2 separate regions of the Homo sapiens genome follow, and region 1 is linked to region 2. The links are contacts of gene promoters, found by promoter capture Hi-C in blood cells and fetal thymus (Javierre and others, 2016). All regions are on one chromosome and are shown on one strand. Each heading gives the region's core, a stretch centred on a gene start or on the middle of the fragment in contact. The rest is flanking DNA. Distances are from core to core; before and after follow the strand shown.

Region 1 (3,052 bases), core at 468-2,967, 300 kb after region 2:
GGGCAGCGAGAGACAAATGTGGTCAGGGTCAGGAGTACCAAACTCAAATACCTACGGGGCTAGGCAAGTAACCTCACTGAGTAAAGGGCTCTGGGTAGAGAGGGCACGCTCCTTCTAAAGGGGACAGCTGCTACAGAGGACCAGAATGCGCTGCCATGCAGAAATGTAGGCCCACTGTCAGAGCTTGAGATTTTTCTTGGGAATGTGTAAATCCAGACTTCTGGATACTTTTTTTCTTGCAATGTTTAAACATTAAATTAAAAAAAAAAACCCCACTGTGGGTCAATAAAAACACCTTTTCAGGCCAGATTGGCCTGAAGGCCAGCACTCAGAACTAGTGGCAGGGGAGGGCTTCCGAAGGGAGGATGGCTGGGCAAGGGGTAGGGCAGGGCCAGCCCTGGGTTCTTACCACTCCTCTGTCCCTTCCTCTTCTGGGGTCTTGTTTCGTTCTCCACCCTGTCCTCTCGGCAGCCATCCTTGCCACCTCCTGCCTCCCGGGCAGCCTCCTCTGACTCTCCTGGAGGGTTTGTTTCCTGGGGGGACTCCCTGCTGGTAGGGGCTAGCTCCCGGTCCTCCTCTGGTTCCACCTTCTCTGTGCTGCCTGCACCCCCGTCCTCTCTCTTCTCTTCTTCTTCATCTTCCTCCTCTTCCTCCTCCCCTTCCTCCCCATCCTCTAGGCTGACAAAGCTGATGTAGGGGCTCAGGTCTCGCAGGTGGAGTGGAGGGTTGTCTCCCAGGAGCCAGGCAGTCCCCAGGCCTGGTCCAGGACCTGGTTCTGCCCCTTGCCCCAGGCTGATGCCCACACTATGGTTGGGCAGGACATGGAGCACCCAAAGGGCAGGGTCCTGGGGTAGCCTTCTGATCTGGGCCTCCAGCTGCCGGCAGCGGCCCTCAAGGCTAGTCCCTACAGCTCCACGCTCTGCCACAAACTTTCGGAACCAGCCGAAGAGAAGGGCAGTGAAATCAAGGAACTCATCCCGGTATCCAGACACAAACTCCATGTCTTCAGCGGCACAGGGCCCCGGCCCAGACTGAGCAAAAGAAGGGATATATGGTGAGGGACAGGAGAGCAATGATGGAGTTTGGGGCTGGGTCACAAATTGAGGGAGAGGGTAGGTTTGAGAGTCACTTAGGGTTGGATCCGTGGATATGCTAGGAGCGGAGAAGAGGATTTTTCAGGGCTGAGGATGGGAGTTTAGGGAGGAAAATGGGGGCTGGACTTGAAAGTGGGTGACCAGGGTTGGAGAAGACTACTCAGGGATGAGATGGTATTTGGGGCTTAAAATTGGAGAGTTCACACCCTCAAAAGCAGAGTTTAAATTAAGGCTAGAGAGGAGAGAGGGCTAATCCTATCGGGAACGGTTTGGTGGGGAGGGAAGCATTTTGGATGCGTCTGTGGGGTATGGGAGTGGGAGCGAGGGGGTTCCCTGGGCTCGGATCTGCGTGGCGGGCAGCCCCGGTAGACCTAGCCCCTCCCGGCCGCCCCACTCCTCCGGTACCTGCAGCCGCCACCACTTTTCGAAGGTAAATACCTCGCGGTGGAGGGTGCGCGGGTGCGGTTGTGACGTCAGGGCTGCCCGAGCCCTCGCCGGCTCAGCGGGCGGCCACGCCCCCCGGGCTCGGTGCGTCCGCGGGTGGCTGCCCCGCAGGTGCGCGCGGCCGGGGCTGGCGGCGACTCTCTCCACCGGGCCGCCCGGGAGGCTCATGCAGCGCGGCTGGGTCCCGCGGCGCCCGGATCGGGGAAGTGAAAGTGCCTCGGAGGAGGAGGGCCGGTCCGGCAGTGCAGCCGCCTCACAGGTCGGCGGACGGGCCAGGCGGGCGGCCTCCTGAACCGAACCGAATCGGCTCCTCGGGCCGTCGTCCTCCCGCCCCTCCTCGCCCGCCGCCGGAGTTTTCTTTCGGTTTCTTCCAAGATTCCTGGCCTTCCCTCGACGGAGCCGGGCCCAGTGCGGGGGCGCAGGGCGCGGGAGCTCCACCTCCTCGGCTTTCCCTGCGTCCAGAGGCTGGCATGGCGCGGGCCGAGTACTGAGCGCACGGTCGGGGCACAGCAGGGCCGGGGGGTGCAGCTGGCTCGCGCCTCCTCTCCGGCCGCCGTCTCCTCCGGTCCCCGGCGAAAGCCATTGAGACACCAGCTGGACGTCACGCGCCGGAGCATGTCTGGGAGTCAGAGCGAGGTGGCTCCATCCCCGCAGAGTCCGCGGAGCCCCGAGATGGGACGGGACTTGCGGCCCGGGTCCCGCGTGCTCCTGCTCCTGCTTCTGCTCCTGCTGGTGTACCTGACTCAGCCAGGTTAGCCGGGGGCGGGGCAGGGGACCCAGATTCCCCTGTCACGGGAAGGGGGTGAGTTGGGGAGGGGACACGAGGCCCACGGAGTTGAGTGGATGAAGGCAGCGGGGACAAGAGGAAAGCCAGCCAGCCGCCTGGGGTTGGGGACAGAGGCCCGGGGACGCCTGGCTCCGGGCGGGATTATGGATGTTGTCGGGGGCGTGATGATGTGTGGGTTGAGCCTGGCGCTCTGACCCTGGGTCCACCGAGAGGCTGTCATGGGGCTGTGGATTGGATGCCAGGGAACAGCGGAGTGGGGACCCTGGGCCTGGGAATGGGTGCCGACCACCTCCGTCCCGCGCAGGCAATGGCAACGAGGGCAGCGTCACTGGAAGTTGTTATTGTGGTAAAAGAATTTCTTCCGACTCCCCGCCATCGGTTCAGTTCATGAATCGTCTCCGGAAACACCTGAGAGCTTACCATCGGTGTCTATACTACACGAGGTAATTTTACCTGCCTCTGCGAGGGCAGCGCCTGGGCGGCCCCTCCTTGCAGGTGCCTCCAGGACCCTCTCTGGTCCAGCCTGAACTCCTTCCCGGCTCACCGAGCCCCATCTCCGGGTTCCGTTTGCTCTCATTCCCCGAAACTTCATGACTCCGTCTCACCTACTGGGGAGTTTCCCAGTCCCAGGAGAAAGGGCTCTTTCTTGGTGGCAACTTCACGCCTCTGGAATGAGGAAGGAGCCGGGGAAGGAAAGAAGGCGCCGCAGCTAAGCCCAGGTCTCTCC
Region 2 (2,772 bases), core at 3-2,502:
CACTTTGGGAGGCTGAGGCGGGCGGATCACCTGAGGTCAGGAGTTCGAGACGAGCCTGGCCAATATGGTGAAACCCCATCTCTACGAAAAATACAAAAATTATCCAGGCGTGGTGGCAGGCGTCTGTAATCCCAGCTACTCGGGAGTCTGAGGCAGGAGAATGGCGTGAACCTGGAAGGTGGAGCTTGCAGTGAGCCGAGATCGCGCCACTGCACTCCAGCCTGGGCGACAGAGCGAGACTCCGTCTCAAAAAAAAAAAAAAAAAAAAAAAAAAGCAAAAATTAGCCAGGTGTGCACACCACGTCCAGCTAATTTTTTTTCAACCATTTAAAAGTGTAAAAACAGCTGGCCAGGCACGGTGGCTCACGCCTGTAATCCCCAACACTTTGGGAGGCCGGGGCAGGTGGATCACCTGAGGTCAGGAGTTCAAGACCAGCCTAGCTAACATGGCGAGACCCTGTGCACTAAAAAGACAAAAATTAGCAGGGCATGGTGGTGGGCGCCTGTAATTCCAGCTACTCGGGAGGCTGAGGCAGGAGAATGGCTTGAACCCGGGAGGCAGAGGCTCGTGCCATTGCACTCCAGCCTGGGCAACAAGAGCAAAACTCCGTCTCAAAAAAAAAAAAAAAAAAAAAAAGTGTAAAAACAGCTGAGCGTGGCGGTAGCTAGGTGTGGTGCGTCTGTAGTCCCAGCTACTTGGGAGGCTGAGGTAGGAAGATTGCTTGAGCCCAGGAGTGCCAAGCCAGCCTGAGCAACATAGTGAGACCTTGTCTCTACCAAAAAAAAAAAAAAAAAAAAAAAAAATTAGCTGGACATGGTGATGCTCGCCTGTGGTCCCAGCTACTTGTGGGGGGGTGGGGAGAGGCTGAGTGGGAGGATCCCTTGAGCTTGGGAGGTTGAGGCTGTAGTGAGCCGCGATCGCGCACCGCTGCGCTCTAGCCTGGGTGACAGAGTGAGACCCCGTCTCAAAATTAATTAATTAATTAAAACAACAAACAACAAAACCCCAGCTGTGTGGGCTCTGGGCTGGGCCGCCTCCCCGGCGGAGGGGGCTCCCTCTCAGGCAGACCGCCAGCCGCTGGGTCCGGGGACTGCCGGATCCGGAGGTGCGGGGACCCCTGCGCACCTGGCGGCTCCCGGGATGCCCCCCTGAGGCAGGCGGGAGGGCAGCACGGAGACGCCCCTCCGGGCAGAGCCCGCCCCAGCCACTCCCCTCTCCAACTCGACCTGCCTCAGCAAGTCCTGAGTGTCGCAAAAGCGCTAGGGTTGCAAGTGGCACCAGAGACGTGCCCTTGTCCCGGGGTCCATTTGAGGGTGAGCGTGTTGGTGCCGAGCTGTTTTTTTGTTTTGTTTTGTTTTGTTTTGTTTTTGAGACCGAATCTCGTTCTGTCGCCCAGGCTGGAATGCAGTGGTGTGATCTTGGCTCACTGCAACCTCCACCTTCCGGGTTCAAGTGAATCTCCTGCCTCAGCCTCCTGAGTAGCTGGGATTACTGGCACCCACCACCACGACCAGCTAATTTTTGTATTTTTAGTAGAGACGGGTTTTCACCATGTTGGCCAGGATGGTCTCAATCTCCTGACCTCAGGCGATCTGCCTTCCTCAGCTTCCCAAAGTGCTGGGATTACAGGTGTGAGCCACCGCACCCGGCCAGTGCTGAGCTGTTTTGACAACTTGGACCCCGGGTCCTCTGTGGGTAGGAAAATCAGCTCCCTCTTTGCTCCTCTGGGGCAGCTGCACCTCGGGCCAGCTTTCTGCCTGTCTGCCTGCCGGCACTGCTGGGTCGCTGTACCCAAACGCACAGCCGGTGCCCCGTGGTAAGTCCTGGCTCCCCACCTTCCCCGCCCGCCCCCGGCCACCTCTCCCTCCAGTTGCCCTGGTCTTAGCAGTCTGACCGACTTGTCTTCTGACTCCGGTTCTGTCCCACCAGCCTATTACCTGCCAGCCTGTCTGTTTCCCTCCAGCTAGAAGGTCTTCAGTTTCCAGAAGAACCAAAGCATCTTTGGACCTACCTAGGGAAGGACCTGCCTGTGACCTTTGCCCTGTCCTGGAGGGTCCAGCTTTGGGCTGAATGGCAGCACCCACGCTGGGCCGTCTGGTGCTGACCCACCTGCTGGTGGCCCTTTTTGGCATGGGCTCCTGGGCTGCTGTGAACGGGATCTGGGTGGAGCTGCCTGTGGTGGTAAAAGACCTTCCAGAGGGTGAGTGGGAGGGAGGTACAGGGAAGCGTGGGGCAGGTATGCCCAGAAAGGTGGCCTGTGGCAGCTCTTTGTCCCTTAGCCACTGTGCTCCTGACATGGCATCATTCCTTCCCTGCAGGTTGGAGCCTCCCCTCATACCTCTCTGTGGTTGTGGCGCTGGGAAACCTGGGTCTGCTGGTGGTGACCCTGTGGAGGCAGCTGGCCCCGGGCAAGGGCGAGCAGGTCCCCATCCAGGTGGTACAGGTGCTGAGTGTAGTGGGCACAGCCCTGCTGGCCCCTCTGTGGCACCACGTGGCCCCAGTGGCAGGGCAGCTCCACTCTGTGGCCTTCCTAACTCTGGCCTTGGTGTTGGCAATGGCCTGTTGTACCTCTAATGTCACTTTCCTGCCCTTCCTGAGCCACCTGCCACCTCCTTTCTTACGGTCTTTCTTCCTGGGTCAGGGTCTCAGTGCCCTACTCCCCTGTGTGCTGGCCCTAGTGCAAGGTGTGGGCCGCCTCGAGTGCCCACCAGCGCCCACCAATGGCACCTCTGGGCCTCCCCTCGACTTCCCTGAGCGTTTTCCTGCCAGCA

The links. The method cuts DNA at HindIII sites, captures the fragments that hold promoters and counts their contacts. A CHiCAGO score of 5 or more calls a contact.
Region 1: a contact is called between the fragment with the promoter of ZMYND15 here and the fragment with the promoter of SLC52A1 in region 2, in 5 of 17 cell types (erythroblasts, total B cells, naive B cells and 2 more). The highest score is 8.2, in erythroblasts.

What each region holds. Positions count from the first base shown.
Region 1 is chr17:4,738,498-4,741,549 of GRCh38, reverse strand. It overlaps ZMYND15 (zinc finger MYND-type containing 15), which reads right to left and starts at 1,717. Exons shown (of 14, transcript NM_001136046.3): 1 at 1,500-1,717; 2 at 410-1,031. The coding sequence starts at 1,001. CXCL16 (C-X-C motif chemokine ligand 16) reads left to right here and starts at 1,622. Exons shown (of 6, transcript NM_001386809.1): 1 at 1,622-2,289; 2 at 2,630-2,768. The coding sequence starts at 2,211. RefSeq lists a silencer at 1,531-1,750 and enhancers at 1,299-2,203, 2,204-3,052. The HindIII fragment of the contact is 8,207 bases long and covers 1-3,052 here.
Region 2 is chr17:5,033,906-5,036,677 of GRCh38, reverse strand. It overlaps SLC52A1 (solute carrier family 52 member 1), which reads left to right and starts at 1,252. Exons shown (of 5, transcript NM_017986.4): 1 at 1,252-1,817; 2 at 1,965-2,201; 3 at 2,320-2,772. The coding sequence starts at 2,072. The region is part of intron 3 of LOC105371501 (a long non-coding RNA gene); the gene reads right to left. The HindIII fragment of the contact is 18,376 bases long and covers 1-2,772 here.